Linked DNA regions of Homo sapiens: region 1 is linked to region 2. The links are contacts of gene promoters, found by promoter capture Hi-C in human tissues and cell types (Jung and others, 2019). All regions are on one chromosome and are shown on one strand. Each heading gives the region's core, a stretch centred on a gene start or on the middle of the fragment in contact. The rest is flanking DNA. Distances are from core to core; before and after follow the strand shown. Region 1 overlaps RGS12 (regulator of G protein signaling 12). Region 2 holds the start of HTT (huntingtin).

What was found. The method cuts DNA at HindIII sites, captures the fragments that hold promoters and counts their contacts. A contact is called where the count stands out against the background at its distance.
Region 1: a contact is called between a fragment that was not itself captured here and the fragment with the promoter of HTT in region 2, in 1 of the 25 tissues and cell types used here (dorsolateral prefrontal cortex).

The regions. Positions count from the first base shown.
Region 1 is chr4:3,349,290-3,353,996 of GRCh38, reverse strand. The region is part of intron 3 of RGS12 (regulator of G protein signaling 12); the gene reads right to left. Among named protein-coding and RNA genes, the nearest start is that of RGS12, 59 kb to the right of the region's middle. The HindIII fragment of the contact is 4,811 bases long and covers 642-4,707 here.
Region 2 is chr4:3,071,065-3,076,440 of GRCh38, reverse strand. It overlaps HTT (huntingtin), which reads right to left and starts at 1,760. Exons shown (of 67, transcript NM_001388492.1): 1 at 1,353-1,760. The coding sequence starts at 1,615. It also overlaps HTT-AS. RefSeq lists enhancers at 865-914, 925-1,154 and silencers at 1,315-1,384, 1,495-1,934, 2,085-2,704. The HindIII fragment of the contact is 13,196 bases long and covers 1-5,376 here.

The DNA of each region.
Region 1 (4,707 bases), core at 1,798-4,297, 280 kb before region 2:
CAAGGCATGTGTCATCAATAGTCATTTCCCCAGTCTTTCTCCATAGGGCTGTTGGCCACTTGCTTGGGAAGTAGTGTGTTAAGGAAAGGGGAGTGCCCAGAGCTTTCTGGTTTTGTTGAACTTAGGGTATGAATGGACACTATCTGTGGACCCAAAGCACTACCACGTTCTCCCTATAAAGAGGGGGCGTATGGAAGCCAGGTTATGAAGGGAGTCCTGGCCCCAGTCTAGCTCACAACAGATCCACAGATCCACCCATGGTCATTTCCCTAGTTCCCAAATATATACATGAAATGACTGGCAGAACCCTCACATTGGTTCCTTCACTCACTAGGTAAGAGCTACTAAGCTGGAAAAGTCAAGGAGAAGCCCGTGGCACAGTCTCCTTCCCCCAACTCAAACCAAGACGGTTAGTGAAAAACAATGCCACATCAGGGAAGAAACAGCCCAGACTGGTACCATCCTCGAAGACTTCAAAAAAGGTGAAAGTGGTAGTCCCTGTCATACCCAAGTTAACTCATACCAGTCCGGTCCTACAAAGTTCAGATGGATCACGGTGATGACAGTGAGCTACCACAAACTTAACTAAGAAGCAGCGCCATTCACAGCTGCTGTGCCAGATGTGGTACCTTTGCTAGAGTACAGTAACATCCCCCCAGGACGCAGTGTGCACACACTGATCTAGGAATGCCTTCTTTTCCATTCCTATCAGAAAGATGAAACTCAGTTCACTCTCACATAGGCTAGGCAGTAGTGTACGTTTGTAGTCCTGCCCCAGGCCTCGTTAACCCTCCCACCCTCCAGCAAAGTAGTCCCAGAGGGCCTGTATGATCTGGTTCAACTCAGAACATCACAGTGGCTCATTATACCTTTAACATCAGGCTAACTGGAGCAGATGAGCAAGAAGCGGAAAGTACGCCGGAGGCCTTGGCACACCACACGCACTCTGGAGGGTGCGAGACAGAACCTAGAGAGACTCAGTGGCCTGCCCCATCGGCAAAGTTTTAGGAGTCAAACATCCCTTCCAAAGAAAGGGACAAATTATTTTAACTCACAACTCTTGTCTGTCAGACAGAAGCCAATGGCTGGTAGGCCTCTTTGGGTTTGTGAAAGTTGTCAGGTTCAAAACGGAGTCACTATGTTAAAAACCCTGATCAACAGAGCTAGGGAAGGTTGGGAAGGCAGGGTTCAAATGCCTGATAACAAGACTTATTACAAAAGACTGGAAAACTACAACCTTGCACAAAGGCCAAACAACCTTACACACATACGCAAATTACTTCTGCGAGGACATCTGCCTAGCAACTGCCTGTCCAGCCTCAGAATCATGCCACCCTTGTTATTGATCCTTGTAGCCAAGAAAAATTATCTCAAAACGATTATGTAATCATATTCATTTTTCCATTAGAAACCTTTATCTTCCACTACTTCCCTGAATATGCACATAGTTTACCATAATGTGTATCCCATCGCAATGCCTATTCCTGAATAAATACCATTTTCTTTTGGAGAGTCTCCCTCCCTATTTGTTATTTAGGATGACATAAATGGTGTCAGAAGTGGGATGTGGAGAAGGATCACCTGTGGAAAGAATCATCAATTCTTAGAACTGGTATGAGGCACTCAACTGAGCCCTTTGAGCTCTCTGCTTCCATGACTCGCCTCTTCTGCCCTTGAAAGTCTCCTCTCAAACCAAGCCTCCCATTTTTTGTTAGAAGCTCTTTTTTACTTCATTTGGGATCTGAGTTAATAAAGGACCTTAATAAAGGACCTTGCATCTGTCTCGGATGATAAAAGACCTTTTGTCTCTTCTGGCAAGCCCCTTCTGGTATAAGGACAATGTCCCTCTGGTTACTACAGAATTTATATTCTGTCTGGTTCTGCACACCCGGTTTAATGTTTTGTTTGGACTGCATGCCTGGCTTAAAATTTCTGTGAACACACTTATTTTTTGTTTTATTTTGATTTGCTTACACACATCTGTATATGATTTGGCTCTTTTTTCCCTTGCTTGATTCTGGCCATGATCTGAGAGCAAAAATAAAGATTCTAAATAATGGGTATGGGATGGCCAATTAACAAGGGCAGTCAGCACCACATAAGGCACCAGTCTAAACTCCCTGACAGGAATTATAGGATTTTCTTTGCTCTTGAGAGATTAATAAGAAATGAAATGGGATTCTTAAACATTGAGGCACACCAAGTCTTCTAGGACTCTGGCCAGCTATACTGTGGTCCGTTCTCGTGTGGTGATGGGCAAACTACATCAGGAAAAACGCAGCACTGGACAGCCATTTTCTGTCTAAGCTTGTCAAAAACTGCAACTAACTACAGGGTTAACTCTCCATCTCTTTTTTCTGCCAACTTTGAATCTGATGACTTTTCTGCCAGCATTAAGATAAACTCATTGCTTATGGAAACTAAGATTTTCTTTTAAGTGTTAAAGGGCTTTCAAACTAATGGCTTTATAAATTATGCCAAATCTATGGCAACCAACGATGCAGACACCTTTTGGAAATGTAAATTTAGGTTTGTCTAACAATTGCTTAGGGTGATGAAAAAGCTAATTGAAAAATCGATATTCTAAAAAAAAAACTTTATAAATGTTTATATAAGCTAAGGGCTGTCAGATCAAACAGGTTAAAACCTTAAGCTCAGAGCAATACTAAAAGGTATCTCTGTCTGACATAAAAATTATTTTGTCTGACACTTAAGAGCCAGAAAAAGCAAACAAACAAAAAGATTTGTTACTAATTCAAGGCAACCTGAAAATTTTGTTGTTTTTTTTTAATACAATTTAGCCAGGCCTAGCTAAAATGTAAACATTTGAATATTCAACCCTAAATTCAATTGAATCTGAAAAAAGGATTAAAAGGTTTTTAAAAGTCAAACTGCTATGAAAACTGCTTTATCCATAATTCTGGTCCACAGCCTTCATTAATTACTTATCAGGGTAAACAGAACTTAGCCACAGATAAAAGTTCCGTTTTGTCAAAAATATAATTTGATCCAACTATATTTTATAAACCAGTGAATTTGTATTACTATGTTTTTCTGTTTCATGACCAAAATTCTAAAATGAAAGCCATAAGATCTTTATTTGTGTCTGTATTTGCTTTTATGTATGTTTATACATATTGTATGTTACATCTACATGATAAAATCTGACATAGTTAGCCAGAAATCCCTTAAGAAATTCTATTTGGATTGGCTTAAACAAGCACTCATGTAAAATATATAGTAATTAACCCAAATGCTTTTTAGTTCGTGTGACTTAAATAAATCTTTTTTGTTTTTTTTGTTTTTTGTTTTTTTGAGATAGGTTATTTCTCTGTCACCCAGGCTGGGGTGCAGTGGGACAAACATGGCTCACTGTGGCTTCAACCTCCTGGGCTCCAGTGATCCTTCCACCTCAGCCTCTTGAGTAGCTGGGACTACAGGTGTGTACCATCATACCTGCCTAATTTTTTTATTTTTTGTAGAGATGGGATCTTGCCATGTTGCCCAGGCTGGTCTCAAACTCCTGGGCTCAAGCAATCCTCTTGCCTCAGCCTCCCAAAGTGCTGGGATTATAGGCATGAGCCACCACACCCAGCTGACTTAAGTAAATCTTGGATAAATAAGTTGGTTTTAAATTTGTTGATAAAATAAAAATAGAAGTGTCTTCAAAACTGTCAGCATACATTTTTGCCCAGCTTTACTGGTCAGAGAGGATTATATTTATCTCTACTAGATGTCTTAAGGTTATAAAAGTATAAATCCAGACTAAAGACACAATTATCTTTATTTGTATAACTTTTTAATGACTAAGACTAACACTGTTAGTTTAATCAAAATTGCTGTATCTTCTGTGTTATCAGCAAAATACCCCTATATTTAAGTTTCTCAGGTGAAAACCTGATACTCATAGGCTATACAAATGGTGAAAAGGGAAATAACTTGAAATGAAGACTAGCTTTTTCTATATCTCAGTTTTCATAAGTAACCTAGGTATAATTATTAAAAATAAATAAAGTACATAAACGTAGATGGGAAAGTGCTTATAGACTGTCATGTAATCTGAAATCTTAAAGTTATGCTATGTTAAATTAAATGATACTCATAAAATGTCTAAGTCATTTCCATATAAGATAAAGTACTAAAACATACATTGCTGAACACAAATGTAAGTTTGTTCTTGGCTTATTAAATTTTAGAGAAGGACTAAATATATTTTTGCCTGTTAATACACAAAGTAATTATGTAACGGGAAAACATGTTTCCAAAAATTATAAAATGGTTCTCATCTATAAAATACTGATTCCAAGGTTTTCACTAAAAATTACAGTTACTAAGAGTTAAAGTTCTTACATATATATATTTCAGTATACAAAGTATACGAAAAGTAAGGTATGTTTCTGATGAGAAAAATTATGAGAGGAATAAAAATGTGTTCTTTATTGAAAAAAAGAGTAATTTTGTCTAGTTTGGAGATTATTTAAAATTTGTTTCAAAATATGGATTTAGAAAGCAAAGAGAAAGAAACCACTAAGTAGGAGAGCGAGAGATGTGAAGAAAGTTATAGGTATGTAGATGTATCTTAGTAAGGAAGGTTAAAAACAAAAATGAATAATTTTGTATGACAAAGACTCCTGTGTGGTAAATTTTTGTCCTAAAGTAAAATGCCTGTTGTTTTAAGAAAGAGGAAGTACAGAACAAAGCAGAAAG
Region 2 (5,376 bases), core at 511-3,010:
TAAACTTTGAAGACGAGACAAGGATCATAACAGAAACAAAGAACAAGAAATATTACTAAAAATTAATCAGTCTTAACAGAGATATTCTTACCAAATGCCATCTGGGACACATCCAGATCGGAAATAGAATACTGAGAGGTAAGAGAAAGGCCTGAACTGCACCAGAGTACTTCCTAACTCCTACTGTACACTCGACACACAGACTTCCAGGGAAAGTCCTGGGGTTCCGCTAGATGTTTTAATGGTCTCTCTTTTCCTGTTTCAAAAATTCTCCCCAAGAACAAGCAACAGAAACCCCTAGCTTCCAAAAAGTAACAAGCTGTCAGCAATGAAGCAAACAGAAACCCTTTCACTGGCACATCTGAGATGCCCACGGAGTCTGCGGACCCCCCGTATTCTGGCAAGCCTGACTGGAATACTGGTAAAATGTACACCTCATTCATCCCTCGGCAATTAACCTCCCCATCAGCAACGTGTTGGTTTTATTCCCAACACACATAGGCAAAAAACTTCAATCAACTCTTCCTAATATTTAAGATAATTTCATTAATCACCACGTAAGTTCACCACTTTACTTGGCAACCACAACTCATTCAAACGCCTGCAGACCAACTTAGGCTTAGATGAGCAGATCTCTTAGGTGGTGCTTAAAATCGTGTTACTACCACCGTGATCATGAACTAAATGAAATGTCCTGACAATGTAGGAAGAGCCTCAAATCTCAGGCTGTTTTAAGTGCCACTAGGAAAAGAAATCTCCCATTGGACGCGCCCTCACTCCCCGCCCCCCCCCTGCCCCGCCACTCCCGCCGAGGCGTCCTAAAAGCATTATGTCATCCACTGCCCCCACATCTCTCCAGCTCCAAACCCCGCCTCCTCTCGAAGTGTCCCGCGCCCCCAGCCCTCTTCCCTCTCAGACTAGAAGAGGGAAGTGGCACTGAGCAAATCTCGGCTCCTCCAAGTTCTCTTCACAACGCAGTTAAAAGAACCCCCGCCCTGGTTTCTCGCAAATAAAAAGAAACAAGTTCTCGCCCCAACTCTTCGCATCCTGCGAAGGGCGAGAGGGCTGAGGCCGTGACTCCCCTCGGTGAATTCAGGACAGGCCCCAACAAGGCTCTGCCTCCCCTCGCGAGAGGACAAGGGAAGACCCAAGTGAGGGAGCGGGGCTGAAGTGGGGGAAGGCCTCGCCCCAGGAGGGGGCGGGTGTCCCTCATGGGCTCTGGGTTGCTGGGTCACTCTGTCTCTGCGGGGCCGGGGGTTCGTGTCGCCGGCCCGCAGGCTGCAGGGTTACCGCCATCCCCGCCGTAGCCTGGGACCCGCCGGGACAGGGAGCTGCAGCGGGCCCAAACTCACGGTCGGTGCAGCGGCTCCTCAGCCACAGCCGGGCCGGGTGGCGGCGGGGGCGGCGGCGGGGGCGGCTGCGGCTGAGGCAGCAGCGGCTGTGCCTGCGGCGGCGGCTGAGGAAGCTGAGGAGGCGGCGGCGGCGGCGGCGGCGGTGGCGGCTGTTGCTGCTGCTGCTGCTGCTGCTGCTGCTGCTGCTGCTGCTGCTGCTGCTGCTGCTGCTGGAAGGACTTGAGGGACTCGAAGGCCTTCATCAGCTTTTCCAGGGTCGCCATGGCGGTCTCCCGCCCGGCACGGCAGTCCCCGGAGGCCTCGGGCCGACTCGCGGCGCCGCTCAGCACCGGGGCAATGAATGGGGCTCTGGGCCGCAGGTAAAAGCAGAACCTGAGCGGCCGTCCATCTTGGACCCGTCCCGGCAGCCCCCACGGCGCCTTGCGTCCCAGACGCTGCGCCGGCGGAGGCGGGGCCGCGCCGGCGGAGGCGGGGCCACGCCGGCCAGCATGATTGACAGCCCTAGCCTGCGGACTCTGCCAATGGCTGGCCAGGGAACCAGCCCGCCCCTGCCCCCGCAGGTTCTGCCTCACACAGCAAGGCCGCTGACAGCGCAGCGCCCCACCCGGGCGAAGGCGCGGGGCTCAACGGAGAGGGGACGGGGCGTGGTGAGACTGTAATGGGGTGAGGCGAAGCTGTGTGTGAAGTGTCGCGGCGAGGCGGGACGAGGAAGGGACGGGGCGGGACTGCATGGTAAGGGAGGCGTGGCGATGCGGGGGGCGTGGCGATGCGGGGGGCGTGGTGAGGTAGGGGCGTGGCGAGGCCGGGGCGGGGCACAGCAGGGAGGCCGCCTGAGGGGCGGGGCGAGACGGGGGCGGGGCGGGGCGATGCTGGGGACGGGGACATTAGGCAGGCCGGCTGAGGGGCGGGGCGGCTGAGGGGCGGAGCGGGATAGGGGAGGGGACTGGCCGGTGAGGGGTGGGGAGGCTGGGGGCGGGGCAGGAAGGTGAGAGGTGGGGCGAGGGAGGGGTGGGGCGCGGAGGGGCAGGGCCATGGAGGGGCTCGCCCATGAAGGACGGGGCCATGGACGGGGCGGGGCCGTGGAGGGGGCGCCGAGCGCGGGCGCAGGCCCATGCGGAAAGGATCCCCCGCCGACGCCTGGAGCGGGGCGACAGCCGGCCGTGGACTCTGAGCCGAGGTGGCCTTGGGGTTTGCCCTCCCGCCACACTGGCCCGTGGCCAGAGCCATACTCACCCGGACAGCCCTGCGGGGAGCCAGCTGCGGGGCTCTCTGCACGGGGAGAGGGTGGGCGAGCTCCTGCGCAGAGCGCAGAGAATGCGCGTGGTCGGCACGACCTGAGGACCCCAAGTGTGACCCCCACCCCACCCCCAGTGAGCTGGAGAGGCCCCTGCAGGGCGGTGTCCACAGGCCTGGCGCCCCCCATCGGTCCCAGCGCAGCGCCCCGGAAGGGAGGAGAGGGTCTGGGGCAGGCCTGGGTGGTCAGCGCCTGCTGCCCACAGAGGCACTGTGATTAGTGCAGCGAGAAGCAGCTATGGCCACAAGATGCCGCCCACAGGAATGAGTCCCGACCTGGGGGCGTTTCTTTATGGGAGTGCACCCCTGCTCTGACCTTCCGGCAGGACCCCCAAGGGGCGTCATTCAGCAGCAGCTCAGCAGAGGTCTGTGGGGCACCCCCTCACGCCTGGGACACAGGCCGTGGCGGGCAGGGTCCTGGTCTCCAGAGCCTCCTGCCTTTTGGGTGGTAGAGGGGCAAACGGAGAGGGCAGCTGTCCAGCCTGCCCAGCAGGGAGTAAGGTTGGCCTCAGAGACAACCGCCCAGCCGGGGGGTGATGCAGGCAGAGAGGAGCCCAGTAAAGCCTACTTTAGCCAGGCCACACCTGCAACCCAGAGTCCCCTGCTCTGTGGCCACAAACAGCACCTCCGCCTTGTCTCAGAGCCTGTCCTAAAGGGAAACCCAGCATTGTCCCCAGTGGGGTAGCAGTAGCCTCCCTTTTCTTGAGAAGGACAGCAGAGAAACAGCTGTTAGTTCCCAGTTCTTGGGAGGCTGATGTGGGAGGATCACCTGAACCCAGGAATTTGAGGCTGCAAGTGAGCTAGGATTGCACCACTGCACTCCAGCTTGGGTGATAGAGCGACACTGTCTCTAAAAAAATTAAGTTCCAGCGAGGTGCGGTGGCTCACGCCTGTAATCCCAGCACTTTGGGAGGCCAAGGCAGGCAGATCACCAGAGGTCAGGAGTTCGAGACCAGCCTGGCCAACATGGCGAAACCCTGTCTCTACTAAAAATACAAAAATTAGCCGGGTGTAGTGGTGCATGCCTGTAGTCCCAGCTATTCCGGAGGCTGAGGCAGAATTGCTTGAACCTGGGAGGTGGAGGTTGCAGTGAGCCAAGATCATGCCATTGCACTCCAGCCTGGGTGACAAGAGTGAGACTCTGTCTCAAAAATAAATAAATAAATAAAGTTCCCAGTTCTCTGCTGTTAATAAGGGCCTTTGTCCACTGTGTCAGGCCTCAAGGTTGTTAGTTACCTCAGTGGGCAGACTCATAAGATGGCCCCAGCACCCCTCACCTCCTGGTATTGACACCCTTGTATGACCCCTCCCCGTGAGCTTGGGCTGTACCTGGTGGCCTGCTTCTAACCAATGGGCAAAGGTGATGGAATGTCACCCCATGACTAGGTCGCAAAAGGGTATGACTTCAGTCTCCCTGGCCCTCTCTGTTGCCTTCTTGGCATGGATGCTCTGATGAAGTCAGCTGCCATGTTGGAGAGGCCCACATGGCGAGGACATAAAGGCGGCCTCTGGCCAACAGGCAGTGAGAACTGAGGTTCTCAGTCCAGCAGGCCATGAGGAACTGGATCCTGCCAACACCACGTGAGATTGGAAAGGGACCCTTCCCCGGCTGAGCTCTCAGGTGGGAGGCAGCTGGTATTTGACTGAACCCTGGCGAGAAGTGGAGCTGGTTAAGCTGGGTCCAAATTCCTGACCCACAGAACGTGTGACGATACATATGGCTCTACACGTAACTACATATAACTCTATGACTAGACATGTGTGCTGCCAAGCCACAGTGCTGGGGTGATTTGTTCCAGCAGCAGATGACTGTATTTGTTTACTTGGGCTGCCATAACAAAGTACCACAGACCGGGCAGCTTAAACAACAGAAATGTATCTTCTCATGGTCCTAGAGGCTAGAAGTCCGAGATGAAGGTGTTGGCAAGGTTGGTTTCCCCTGAGCCCTGTCCTTGACTTGCAGACAGCTGCCTTTCTTGGTGTCCTCACGTGGCCGTCCCTCTGAGCATGTCCGTGTCCTAATCTCTTCTTGTAAGACATCAGTCGGATTATGGCCCACCCTAATGATCTCATTTTAGCCTCCTTACCTCCTTAAAGAACCTGTCTCCAAATACAATCCCATTCTGAGGTTCTGGGGCTTAGGACATCAACCTGAATGAGGGACACAGTTCGTCCCATAACAATAAGTAATAGAGTTGCACCCTAGCAGCCGCTCTGACCTTCTTTAGAGACCTTTTTATCTAAGCAGTTTGCCTCTTAGCTAGTGTATGACAGTCCCTGTCCTTCCTTCAGCTAGCTATGGCCATATAACTAAGTAAGTGCTAGCCAGGGAGATGCAAGCAGAAGTAATGAGTAGTACTTCTAGAAAGGAATCACATAAAATGAAGGGAAAGACACACCTTTTTCCTGCTCCCTGGAATGGGATGTGTTGGCTGGGACTTGAGCAGCCATTTTGGATCATCTGCATAAAAGCCACATCCTGGGGTGATGGGAGCTGGAAGGAGGGGGCCCAGATGACTGTGTGCAGTTGTCATTCCAGCCTGGCCTGGAATTCTTTCATCTGTAAGGGAGAAATACACTTCCGTCTGAGCTGCTGTGACTCCAGGTCATTCTGTTATATGCTCCCAAACCAAATTATTCCAACCCATCCAGGGAGGCAATGGATCATCGGGACTTTACATGGCCACAACAAATCACAACTGCTTCAGCCATGGCTGAGAAAACATCATCT